Regions from separate parts of the Homo sapiens genome. Here all the other regions are linked to region 2. Evidence: promoter capture Hi-C in 16 types of primary human blood cells and fetal thymus (Javierre and others, 2016). All regions are on one chromosome and are shown on one strand. Each heading gives the region's core, a stretch centred on a gene start or on the middle of the fragment in contact. The rest is flanking DNA. Distances are from core to core; before and after follow the strand shown.

What was found. Contacts are between HindIII fragments. The CHiCAGO score rates a contact against its expected background, and 5 or more counts as called.
Region 1: a fragment that was not itself captured here is called in contact with the fragment with the promoter of MYH3 in region 2 in 5 of 17 cell types (naive CD8 T cells, naive CD4 T cells, non-activated CD4 T cells and 2 more); the score reaches 7.3 in naive CD8 T cells.
Region 3: a contact is called between a fragment that was not itself captured here and the fragment with the promoter of MYH3 in region 2, in 6 of 17 cell types (naive CD4 T cells, total CD4 T cells, naive CD8 T cells and 3 more). The highest score is 9.0, in naive CD4 T cells.

The regions. Positions count from the first base shown.
Region 1 is chr17:10,810,682-10,814,987 of GRCh38, forward strand. TMEM220-AS1 (TMEM220 antisense RNA 1) reads left to right here. Exons shown (of 4, transcript NR_073458.1): 4 at 4,218-4,306. Among named protein-coding and RNA genes, the nearest start is that of TMEM238L, 8.7 kb to the left of the region's middle. The HindIII fragment of the contact is 6,764 bases long and covers 1-4,306 here.
Region 2 is chr17:10,654,510-10,658,966 of GRCh38, forward strand. It overlaps MYH3 (myosin heavy chain 3), which reads right to left and starts at 2,800. Exons shown (of 41, transcript NM_002470.4): 1 at 2,780-2,800; 2 at 1,581-1,639; 3 at 352-563. The coding sequence starts at 555. The HindIII fragment of the contact is 3,770 bases long and covers 1,526-4,457 here.
Region 3 is chr17:10,865,587-10,869,817 of GRCh38, forward strand. No RefSeq gene overlaps it. Among named protein-coding and RNA genes, the nearest start is that of PIRT, 30 kb to the left of the region's middle. The HindIII fragment of the contact is 1,814 bases long and covers 1,135-2,948 here.

The sequences.
Region 1 (4,306 bases), core at 5-2,504, 150 kb after region 2:
CTCATGGGCATTAAATACAAATACCAACTCTTCTCCCTTTCCTCTTCCCCACCCTTGTGTCAGTTGTTTCCCAAATCCTCAGATAATCAAGTTAGTTTCTTTCTTATTCCCATTTAATTAATTTTTTTTTTTGAGACGGAGTCTCACTCTACTGCCCAGGCCAGGCTGGAGTGCAGTAGCACGATCTTGGCTCACTGCAACCTCCGCCTCTTGGGTTCAAGAGATTCTCCTGCCTCAGCCTCCCAAGTAGCTGGGATTACAGGCACACGCCACCACACCTGGCTAATTTTTGTATTTTTAGTAGAGATAGGATTTCACCATATGGGTCAGGCTGGTCTCAAACACCCGACTTCAGTTGAGTCACCTGCCTCGGCCTCCTAAAGTGCTGAGATTAAGGCATGAGCCACTGTGCCTGGCCTTTAATTAAGTTTTTAATTAAAAATTATTTATTTTCATTGTAGAAAATGTATGTGACTAACAATTTGCTGCCTTAACCATTTTTAAGTGTACAGTTCAGTGGCATTAAGTGCATTCGCATTGTGCCACTATCGCCACCATCCACCTCCAGAACATTTTTATTGTCCTGAAATGAAGCTCTGTGCACATTACATACTAACCCCCCAGACTGCCTTCCCATAAGCCCCTGCAACCACCATTCTGCTTTCTGTCTCTGTGAGTTTGACTACTCTACCTACCTCATGTAATTGAAATCATACTATACTTGTCCTTTGGTAACTGGCTTCTTTTTCTTAGCATAGAGTCCTCAAGGTTCATCCGTGTTGTAGCATGTGTCAGAATGTTCTACCTTTTAAGGCTAAATAACGCTCCATTGCGTGTATTTACCACATTTTATGTATCCATTCACCTGTGGGTGGACACTAGGTTTGCTTCCACCTCTTGGCTATTGTGAATGATGCTGCTATAACCATGGGTATAAAAATATCCATTTGAATCCGAGCTTTTGATTCCTTTTGGTATGAGTGTATATACCCAGAAGTAGAATTGCTGGATCATATGGTAATTCTATGTTTAATTTTTTTTTTTTTGAGGCGGACTCTCGCTCTGTTTCCCAGGCTGGAGTGCACTGGTGCTATCTCGGTTCACTGCAACTTCTGCCGCCTGGGTTCAAGTGATTCTCCTGCCTCAGCCTCCTGAGTAGCTGGGATCACAGGTGTGCGCCACCAGGCCCAGCTAATTTTTGTATTTTTAGTAGAGACAGGGTTTCACCATGTTACCCAGGCTGGTCTTGAACTCCTGACCTCAGGTGATCTGCCTGCCTCGGCCTCCCAAAGTTCTGGGATTCGAGGCATGAGCCACTGTGCCCAGCCTATGTTTAATTTTTGGAGGAACCCATTCTCATGTGAGGATCCCATTCACTTTCCACAGTGGCTGCACCATTTTACAATCCCATCAGTGATCTAGGAGGGTTCTAGTCTCTTTATATCCTCACCAAAATTGGTTGTTTTCTGTTTTCTTGATAATAGTTATCTTATCCTAAAGTGAAAACTGGATTCCTATGTACTTTTATACTAGTCCTCGTTACATTGATCCAAGTAGTTTGTTTAGTTTTCTGCCCCCCTCATGAGGCTGGGCATCCCTGTCAGTACAAGCATCCCTGCCTTCTCCTTGGTAGCCCAGCACCTGGTGTTCACTGAATAGATGCATTCTTTATAATTCCTGGGACATTCCCAGTTTATTGGAAAAGCTGAGGCTGCTTCGCCAAATCTCCCCAACTCTACTCAGCTCTACTCAAAGTGCCTCTGTGTTGTTCCTCTCTTCCTTCCTCCCATTTCTGGGGAGGTAGTCTCCCAGCTACCTCCCATCAAAGCAAATTGCTTCCACGATAATACCTTGAAGTCCCATGATGCCGGGAAATCCAGCGCTTCAGTGGTCTACTGTGAATGTGGGTCCCTTCCACACCAGTTTATTTTTGCTGCCTGTTTCTGCTGACACTCAGCTCCAAGTTCATTGCTGGGCACATTGTACAAGATGTTGAGATGGAAATCCTGAGGCATCACCACCATGAGAGCAGCTGGGTTAGGCGTTAAAGCCGATATTTCTGTCACCATTTTCTGGCATCGCTGGATTGCCCCAGGAGCAATCAGGTGCAAAGCCTGCTTGCAAAGTTCCAGGGTTAAGCTGCCAGAGGTCTTGGCTGTCACCCCCTTCCTCCCGCAGCCAGGCCCAGTGCCAAGTTCCAGAGGCCCTGCCCAGGCAGCTCCACCCAGAGCTTCAGAGCTAGAGCTTCAGGCCTAACTGCCTCTCTAGCCATGACCTCCTACTGGAGCTGGGGTCCAGCACTCCTAAGCTGCCAAGATGTCTTTAAAGATGTGCAAAGCCAGGTATAAGCAAGCAAGAGGAATATGGCGCCTGCCTTCAGGGAGCCTAAAGTGGGGAGAGGCTTTGGGAGGCTGAGGCGGGCGGATCATGAGGTCAGGAGATCGAGACCATCCTGGCTAACATGGTGAAACCCCATCTCCACTCAAAAATACAAAAAATTAGCCAGACGTGGTGGGAGCCACCTGTAGTCCCAGCTACTTGGGAGGCTGAGGCAGGAGAATGGCGTGAACCCGGGAGACAGAGCTTGCAGTGAGCTGAGATCACGCCACTGCACTCCAGCCTGGGCGACAGAGCAAGTCTCCGTCTCAAAAAAAAAAAAAAATGGGGAGAGGGAGGAAGAGGAAAGACAGTGGAAAAGCAGACATGAACTAATCATGTAAATTAACATGTAAATATGACAGAGATGAGAGATCAGCAGCCAGAGGTGAAGGACCATGATCTATGAGAATGTGATAAAGAGGGCACTGACCAAGGCTTCCCTGAGGCTCTGCTGTTGGAACTGAGATTCAAAGGATGGGCAGGCGAGGCCAGGGAAAGGGGTGTGAAGAGGCTCCCAGGTAAGGCAGGAGTGTATGAAAGCACTGATGGTGGTAGATGGCCCTGCCGTGTGGCTGGGACAGAGAGGAGGAAGGGGCAAAGAATCGTGCTAACATCTTTCTTCTAGGAGTGTTGGGAAGCTGTTGGAGAGTTTTAATCAGTAGGGGATGTGATCCCTATTTTATTTTTTATTTTTTAAATTTTTTAAAAAATTTTTTATTTGGCTAGGCGCAATGGCTCATGCCTGTAATCCCAGCACTTTTGGAGGCCGAGGCGGGCAGATCAAGAGGTCAGGAGATCAAGACCAGCCTGACCAACATGGTGAAACACCGTCTCTACTAAAAATACAAAAACTAGCCAGGCGTGGTGGTGCGTGCCTGTAATCCCAGCTACTCGGGTGGCTGAGGCAGGAGAACCGCTTGAACCCGGGAGGCAGAGGTTGTGGTGAGCTGAGGTCACGCCACTGCACTCCAGCCTGGGTGACAGAGCAAGATTCCATCTCAAAAAAAAATTTTTTTTTTTAATTTTACTTTAAGTTCTGGGATACATTTGACCCAGAAATCCCATTACTGAGTATACACCCAAAGGATTATAAATCATTCTACTATAAAGACACATGCATACATATGTTTATTGCAGCACTATTTACAATAGCAAAGACTTGGAACCCACCCAAGCAATCCATATTTTTTTAAGGAGGCTGCTGTACAGAGAACAGATTGGAAGGGGCTGAGATCAGAGGGGAGTGTGGCAAACAGCAAGCACAGTTGCAGCTGAGCTGATAGGAGGAAGGTGAGGACAGTAAAGACACCTCTCTTTCCACAGAGGTGGATCAATTTGAGAGCCTGCAGGGGAGTGAAGTCAACAGAACTCCGTGGTGGATGCAATGTGGGATGAGGGAAAGGGAAGGGGTTATTGTGGACTACCAGCTTTCTGTTTTGCAAAGCTGGGTGCTAATGGTGACTCCTGAGACACTTATCATCATATCTACCCTCTTAATAAAGTTTTAAGCACACAATACACCGTGCTGTACAGCATATTTCTAGAATTTATTCATTTTGTAGAACTACAACTTCACTGTATTTTGATTTCCAAACTTGATTTAAAAGCTACTAGACATCATAAGAAATTAGAAAAAAACAAAACAGAACACCCTTCAGCCATGTGAACCAAAGAGATCGGGAAGAACAACCAAATGAGAGGCATCACCCAACAGGGCTGTGAGTCAGACCAACATGGTGGACTGACAAGGCTCATCCGGCAGCGTGGAGAGGAGAGAGGGGAGGTAGAAAGAGGTGAGACGTGGTCTCCAACTCACACTGCTTGCCTTCTCTCTGCAGGGAGCCACTCTGCCCTTGTTTTCCCCTTCCCTCTTCTGGAATGTTCTATCCGAGATCTTCACGTGGCTGCCTCCTCTTCATTCAGGTCT
Region 2 (4,457 bases), core at 1,550-4,049:
ACCAAAGGAGAGTGTTCTGAAACAGCGCTCATTCATGTTGAACTCCCAACTCCACACCCTTGGGACACGTGGAGCTGGGCCCCTCTGGCCTACAGTGAACGTGGACAAAAATACCTGAAAACTAATTGTTTTAATCAGCCACAGCCAGACTCTATTCCCACCCTGGAACCTGAGGCCAGTATTCACTCTGCTTTCTCTGAGGATACCTGGGAAGCCCCAGGCTACATTGTATGCGGCATTCCAGTGCTGGAACCACATCTGGAAGTGGCTGGGGTTGGGCAGATGCATACCCCAGGCAAGCACAAGGACCAGGTGGAGGGCCAGCAGCCTGTGGAGGGTACAGAGCCTTACCCTGTTGTCCTCAGTTTCCACAGTGACCTTCCCATCCTGAGAACTCTTGATTTTCCCCTTGGCATATTCTTCCTTTGAGTCCACCACGAAGCAATACGTCTTGGCATCAAAGGGCTGGTTCTGAGCCTCGATCCTCTCCTTTTCTGACTTCCGGAGGAAAGGAGCAGCTATGCCGAACACTTCCATTTCAGTGTCACTACTCATGGTGTCAGCTGGAAGGCAAACCCACCCGGTGAGCTCAGCAGCCCCCTTGCCAGGCACCCAGCAGCTCCAGGCCTGTTTCAGCCTCCACCCTGCCCTCCTTCAGCCGCAGGAGCCCTCAGAGTCAGGGCCCCAGGAACCAGGCTGTCCTCATGCCTTGAGAAGCTCCACCCAAAGGGCTTCAGTGCTGGGAAATCACACGGGTGCATATTTATTGAGGGGCTTCTTGTGCGACAGTCTTACAGCCTATTTAACCCAAGCTCCTCAAGCATCTGAGGCTTGAACTGGCGATAAGGGGTTTGGAAGTGAGCACCACTCTTGGGACCGCCTTTTCCGCTTCTGTGACAACCAGGTGTTGCTGAGGGAACGTTTAAAAATAAACACCCTTAAAAAATAAACGCCATCTTCAAAGAGAGTGTGCTAATGGCAAACAGCAAAGATATTTTTGAACCATTTCAATCAAGGTGGCTACACGCTCGTATGCGGGAACCTGCCTTTTGCTTCCTTGGGTTGCTAAGAACAAAATCAAGCATCTGACATCAGCATCTGTTTGACAGTCCCCCAAATGCCACCTCCTCTCCCGCCTGACCTGTCCTTGCCTTTTTTTTTTGAGATGGAGTCTCACTCTGTCACAGACTGGAGTGCAGTGGCACGATCTCCACTAACTGCAACTTCTGCCTCCCAGGTTCAAGCGATACTCCTGCCTCAGTCTCTTGAGTAGCTGGGATTACAGGCACTTGCCACCACGTCCTGCTAATTTTTCTATTTTTAGTAGAGACGGGGTTTCACCATGTTGGTCAGGCTGGTCTTGAACTCCTGACCTCATGATCTGCCCACCTCGGCCTCTCAAAGTGCTGGGATTACAGGTGTGAGCCATTGCACCCGGCCACGACCTGTCCTTGTCTAAATGTGCTAGTTCCCCTGTCCCTCTGTGCCCTTATGGCCGGTGGGAGGAGGGAGAAAGGAACTGGCAAGCTTGGATTGCCTGGAGATCTCCAACAGCCGAGGGACAGGGCCCAACTTCTCACCTGAGAGTCCCACCTGCAGGATGAGAGCAGAAGACAGCAACAGCCAGGAGATCCCAGACCTGGAAGAATATGCACATACACAACTTAGCGGCACTTGGGGTGGCTGCGTCCATGTAGAATCGGCTTCTGACGAGTTAACTAAAAAGGATAAAGGGGCCAGGCGCCATGGCTCACGCCTGTAATCCCAGCACTTTGGGAAGCCGAGGCGGAAAGATGGCCTGAGGTCAGGAGTTTGAGACCAGTCTGGCCAACATAGTGAAACCCCTTCTCTACTAAAAATAAAAAATAAATTTAAAAAATTGCTGGGCGTGGCGGCAGATGCCTGTGATCCCAGCTACTCTGGAGGCTTAGGCAGGAGAATCATTTGAACCTGGGAGACAGAGGTTGCAGTGAGCCGAGATTGTGCCATTGCACTCCAGCCTGGGCGACAAGAGCAAAATTCTGTCTCAAAAAAAAAAAAAAAAAAAAAAAAGACTAATACTTTAAAGAGGCAGGCTGGAAGATGGAAGAGCAGATGGGACGTGACCCACAGGAAGCCAGGCAGGGAGGAAAAACCCTCAGCTGTGCAGAAATCTGGTTTCTCTCAGCCTGCACTGGCACCTTCTTCAGTCTTCCTCACTCCCATTTAGAATCGGACAGCAGGGACCGCATCCCTGCTTAAAGTCAACAGTTCGAGGGCAGGGGCAGGTCTCCTTGTCTGTGAACAGGCAATATCTCTGAGATTAATTTACACGCAATGCCCACAGCCAGTGTGGTCTTGAGAGGACAAGACACCTGGCAGATGTACAGCCCAGGTGGGGAAGGTGAGGGCAGAGTGAGGTCCCCAGTCCTGTTGACCCTTCATGGGTCACAGAGGCAATGGGAGAAGGTCAAGCCATGGCAGCTGGGCTCACGGGGCATCCAAAAGGATCCTGCCCAAGAGGACACTTGGAGAGGAGGACAGGGGAGAGTGTGTGGAGGAGAGAGAACCTGCAGGGCTCCTGCTTGGGGGAGGTGCTGGAGCCAGAGGGTGCTGGGTGTTTGGGCCCAGGGAACCTCGCTCTCTACACCTTGCTTATCCTAAGAAAACTCAGAAAGGCATGAGGCGCCACCTCAGCAGAGCCAGGCAGGGCCAGGGAACCACGCACGGGGTGTGGATGTGCTCACCGGGTGGGTGTGCTCCAAGCAGCTGAGACCTAGAAGAGGAGCCTGTGACTTACCTCCGCCCACAAGCGAGCCACAGAGGGCTGGCTGCTCCCCGGGGCTTTTATAGGCCATTGGTAACCCCCGCGGCTCATTCCTTCTCTATATTTGGCAAGAGGATGAGTGGCCCCCCCAAGCCGAGAACCAGCTTCTTCCACACGTATCTTTGTCGTTGCCAAGGGAAAGGTATAATTAGAAATGAGCAGGATCCATCACCATTTTCCGACCGCAGAATGTCAGGAGCTTGGGATGCCTTTCTCTGAACTTGGGGCCGGTGCTCCCTCCCCTGATGGGATGGGATGGCCTCACTCCAGGAGGAGTTGCGGGGGCAGCCACCTCCGTTCTCAGGCGCTCATCACACCCTGAACGCGGCGTGAGCCCCTAGCTATTGGGCACCAAGGACTGAAGTCGGGTGGCTTACTTAGAAATCTCATCATATGGAAAAGTGAATAAGACTGAGAGTGAAAAGTTGAAATCCTTTTTGAATTTTGAGCAAGATTTTATCACAACCTTGGGTTGTGATTGCAAAACCTGTGCCAGGAATAATTAATAATAATAATAATTAATAGCAATAATTCCCCTCCCCCCTTGCCCTCTTCTCCCTTCTCCTCCTTCTACTCCTCTCCTTCTTTCTCTTATTTTCTCCTATGCAACGTTCTGTCTCATTAGTATCATTATTAACTTAATTCTTTCTTAAGCTCTAATAGGACCAGCCAGTTAAGTTAGTGACGTGGATCTATGCTGCCAGCTCGTATTCCCGGCGACAGCTGCCTGAGGACCTGTGGCTATTAAGACAGATTACCAATTAGGAAAGACCAGCTGCTGGCTGGGATGGGGTAGGGGGAACGGTGGTGGCCTGCAGAGAAAGGGCGGACAAGGGGGGGCTGTCTAACAAATGTGGTCATCTCTAAATCAGGAGTGGAAAAATAAAGCCTCAAGAGAAGAGTAAAGTATGTCGGACGCTTTTGCCCATTCTCGTTCTACTTTTTTTTTCTTGACAAATCTTTGGGAGGATGGCTGGGTGGGCACCCTGTGGTTGCTTATTCCAAATAGAACTGTTTGTCCATGTTTCCCATAGAAACCGCCCCTTCCGTACACAGCAGTACCAAGCCCCGAAGTGGAGGCCACTCCATGAGGTCTGCGTGGGACCGGGGAGGCAGGGCTGCGGTCTCAGGGCAAAGGCACGTGTATGAAACATCCTCTGTGCTCTGGCCCTTACACACAGTGCTTCGAGAAGACGCAGAGGAAACAGAAGACGCAGCCTTTACCCTTAAGGGTTTGAATTCTAGATGATGAGTCCTGTGGATGCTACAGACGCATTTACAAAATTGAGGTGATTTCACATTGAAGCAACAAGTTTATGAAGCGCCTGTTCCGTGAATGCCAGGCAAGGCCAGTGGCCGCCAATGGAGTCAGTTGGGCAGGGCTCACTCACCCCTTGCCTGTCCACCAGCCACTGAGCGTTGCCCCCACCCACTGCCCCTCTCCCTCCAGGTGAGACTGACATGTCCATCCTTGGAGCCCCTCCTCATCCAAGGAGAGGGTAACCGTCACTCCTAAAGTGTCCGTCCATGTCGTAAAGGGAGTGGTCCCCTGGGGCTCTGCCCTGTTGGCCCAGTGATGCACTGTCTCCTTGGGAGTATTGGTCAGGACAGCCACGGACAGGTAAATATCACCGAGGGGAGCAGCGGTGTT
Region 3 (4,231 bases), core at 792-3,291, 210 kb after region 2:
TGTCTGAGCAGAGCCTTAAAGGACAGAAAAGAAGATCCCATCTAAGACACTCTCAAGAATTCAGGGACACAGGTGGGGCACTTTGGGAGGGTGGGGAGTCTGGGCTTTCAAGTCAGGTGCTCCTACTAACTGTGGGACTTAGGGCAAAGTCCTGGCTAGAAGGGGTAATGTGAAGATCAGAAAGGGCAATTACAGAGTACCAGCCACTACTTTTAATAAGAGAAAACAATCATTATTTTCTGTAGATCTGAGCATCACCAAACGCCTTACATTGTTGTAAGGATTGCATTTTCTGAACACTAATGAAAACCCTAAATAAAGTTGTTATTAATAATACTGATAATCAGAACTTGAAGCCCGCAGTGAAGTGCTCCTTCTCTCAACAACTGGACAATCATTCTCTTCCTTTGGGAGTTAAAGTGAAACATGCAAAGTCACCAGAAATATGTAGAATAGTTCTCAGACCAGCACCATTTAAATGTAACTTGGTTGAATATATTTACATATTAAAAAAAAGTATGTCAATCAGAGAATTAAGGGACAGGAAAAGCAGTCACAGAGGCAAACAGGCTTGACTTGGCCTGTGCAGAAAGGAGGGAGGAGGGCAGTTCAGCCAGCAGAAGTGATGGCTTTCTGTTTCTGAGGCCAGCCCTAGGATGCAGAGATGTTCTGATGATGCCAGTAATTTCCTCTCTGCTCTCTGACACCATCTTAAAGGGCCTGCCTAAGCCACAGCACCCAATGAGACAGATTTTTATAGCAAAAGCCCCAGCTCCTGGCTCCTCCATCCTGACCATAACTGATAGAGTTAAGAGTGAACATCAGACTAGAGCTGAGCTTATCAGTTTCAATGTGTTCAGACCTTTCCATCAGGGATGGGAAGACTGACACAGTTGGTTGTGGGGGGAACAAGGCTGGAATGTTGGGACATCATGGAACAGAAGCCATCATCTTGGGATGGCCTTGTTGAAGCCTTGTACACACAGAGATGTAAGCAAAGTCATGTCTGCAAGAAGAGAACAATAAATAAGATATTTATAGAAAAGAAGAGATAAGAGTAGGAGAGGAGAGAGAGTGAGAGAGAAAAGAAGGAAGAGAGCGAGAATGCCATCTACTAAATTTCTGGTTCCACGAAGCTTCGCTCTGCTTCTAAATAGCTTTCATTTTTCACGTGAGCCTTGATGAGTAGAGCTATGTTCCACACAACCAAACCATTTCTAACTAAGATGGGGTTTTAGGTGACAGCCTCAATTATTTCAAGTTTTCCTGGCAAGATCTTCCCAGCATGAGTGAAATGGATGGATCATGCTGCGTCAGCCAGGCATGGTCAGGCTGGGACTCAAACCGTGTCTTCTTCTTAGATTCGTGGCCTACCACTATGAAAGCTGGGACCTTGTTGTATAATAATGTGGCTTCCACACATGGGTGGCATAAAACAATGTCAATTTATTATCTTGCCATTCTTCAGTTTGGAAGTTCAACATTGGTCTCACTGGGATGAAATGAAGTCATCATCAGGGCCAATTCCTTTGGTGGCTCTCAGGAAGAATCCATTTCCTTGTGCATTTACAGCTTCTGGAGGCTGCCCACATTCCTTGCCTTGTGGCCCCTTCTTCCACCTTCAAAGTGAATTATGTGGCATCTTTCTGACTCTACTTCCAGTGTCACAGCTTTCTCCAGCTCACTCTTTTTACTCCCCTGCCCCATGTGAATACACTGAGCCCACTTGGATAAATCAGGATGATTTTCTCATCTCAAGGTTATTGTTTGGTCATGTTCCCACCCACATCTCATCTTGAATTCCCATGTGTGGTGGAGGGGACCTGGTGGGAGGTAATTGAATCATGGGGTCAGATCTTTTCCATGTGTTCTCACGATAGTGAATAAGTCTCATGAGATCTGATGGTTTTACAAGGGGGATTTTCCCTGAACAAGCTCTCTCTTTGCCTGCTGCCATCCATGTAAGAGGTGACTTGCTCCTCCTTGCCTTCTGCCATGATTGTGATGCTTCCCCAGCCATGTGCAACTGTGAGTCCATTAAATCTCTTTTTCTTCCCATTCTCAGATGTGTCTTTATCAGCAGCATGAAAATGGACTAATACAGCAACCTCAATTCCCCTTTTTCATATAACCTAACAATTCACAGGGCCCAGGGATGAGGGCATGGACATTTTGGTGGGTAGGGAGCATTATTCTACCTACTCCATATGGGGAGAAAACAACAAATACCAATGTAGAGCATTCTTTAAAAATACTCATTTTGGCTTAGGAAACTTTGATGCTCAACTAGTGATCTTCTGAACCCATGCTTTAATGAAAAATAGCATGGACTTTCCACTCCTTTAGGCCTGAGTTCGATCCTACCAAGTCTATGACTTGAGTGTGTGTGTTTAACTTCTCTGTACTTCAGCTTCCTCCTCCATAAAATGCAGATAATGATGCGGAACTAGATGAAATGTTTGGGGAACTAGATGAAATCAAATATGCTTTTAAAAAAACATTATAAATGCCTTTCTTTTTTTTTTTTTTTGCTTTCCTTACTTTCCTTTTCCTTTCCTTCCAGCCTGGAACCATTAACTGAATATACCAAGAATGCTCTTGAGTGAGGACCCATGCTGTCTTGGTCATGCTATGTCTCAGCTGCAGAAGTGACCTGGTGCTAGAAATCTGAAACTAGCATTCCACCGGGATGACAATCCATAATCTCCTCATGCTCCTTCTGCCCCATATTTCAGGTCTTGTTATCTCCAGGAGCGAGAGCCATTCAAGGTCTTCTTTTTGTCTTTCTTTTCTCACAGCTTACAATGACAAGGGCCAGGAAGCCAAGGAGAGGATATTTGGGGGTTGCTAAGTAGGAGCCGCCAGGACAGTGATCTCGAGGGCCTATCTGAATGATGGGAGGTATTGAAGAATTCCCAATAGACTGCATCCAGATCATGGCTACAGCAAGCTTTTCCCCATCCCTTTGAGCAACTTATATTCCTTTTTTTGTCTTTTTTTTTTAAAGTTTTATTTTAAGTTCTGGGATACATGTGAAGAATGTGCAGGTTTGTTACATAGGCATACATACGCCATGGTGGTTTGCTGCACCTATCAACCCGTCATCTAGGCTTTAAGCCCTGCATGGATTAGGTATTTGTCCTAATGCTCCCTCTCCTCTTGTCCCCCACCCCCTGACAGGCCCTGGTGTGTGATGTTCCCCTCTCTGTGTCCATGTGTTCTCATTGTTCAACTCCCACTTCTTAGTGAGAACATGTGGTGTTTGGTTTTCTGTTCTGTGTTACTTTGCTGAGAATGATGGTTTCCAGCTTCATCCATGTCCCTACGAAGGACATGAACTCATTCTTTTTCATGGCTGCATAGTATTCCACGGTGTATATGTGACACATTTTCTTTATCCAGTCTATCACTGATGGGCATTTGGGTTGGTTCCAAGTCTTTGTTATTGTAAATGAGCAACTTACATTTCTTTAAAGTGTTGGTGAGCTCTGCACATCTGTAACCACAGCCATGGGCTTCTGATGAGAACTTCTTATTTTACTTTATGTTTGAAGGAGCTTGGCTGCCTTTGACCTCACCACCCTAGGAATTGGAATGGAATGAGTGAAGGAGTTCCTATGTTGGTTTGTGGCAGGAAGATAGTCCAGTTGGATTTAAGTGGTATCATTATGGAAATGCAACCAGTGCAGGTATCAAAGCCTTTGCAAAACATTCTAGAAGGTTACTCATGTTTTAGCTGAAAAAGCAGTCTGCTGATTATAAAATATGGCTCCTCAGCTTTCCTTTCAGTTTTAGACAGTTACCATACCTCATTGGCAGCTCACAATGCATCTTCACAGATATGAGCACTTTTCTTGGTGCACGGGTTCCTAGCAGAGTCTCAGAGTCAGACAGGCCAGTGTTGAAATTCCAGTTCTCCTGAAACTAGCAGTCACTTAATCTTTCTGAGTTTCAGTTCTCCTAACTGTAAAATGGTGGCACTAATAACTATTTCCTTGAATTGCTGTGCTTATTAAATGCCCCTAGCACGGCACCAAGCCCTCATTAAGCACTTGGAAACTTATATCCATTTCTTCTTTTTTGGGTTCTCTGCATATAATGTTTATATACATCTTAATTAAAACTGCTTCTTTCCTTAAAATATCTAATATTCACGTATAGAAGGGTATTCACAGAAAAGGATGCAGCTACCTTTCCTTCTCTGGGCACAGTAGACATTTGCCTTCCCAGA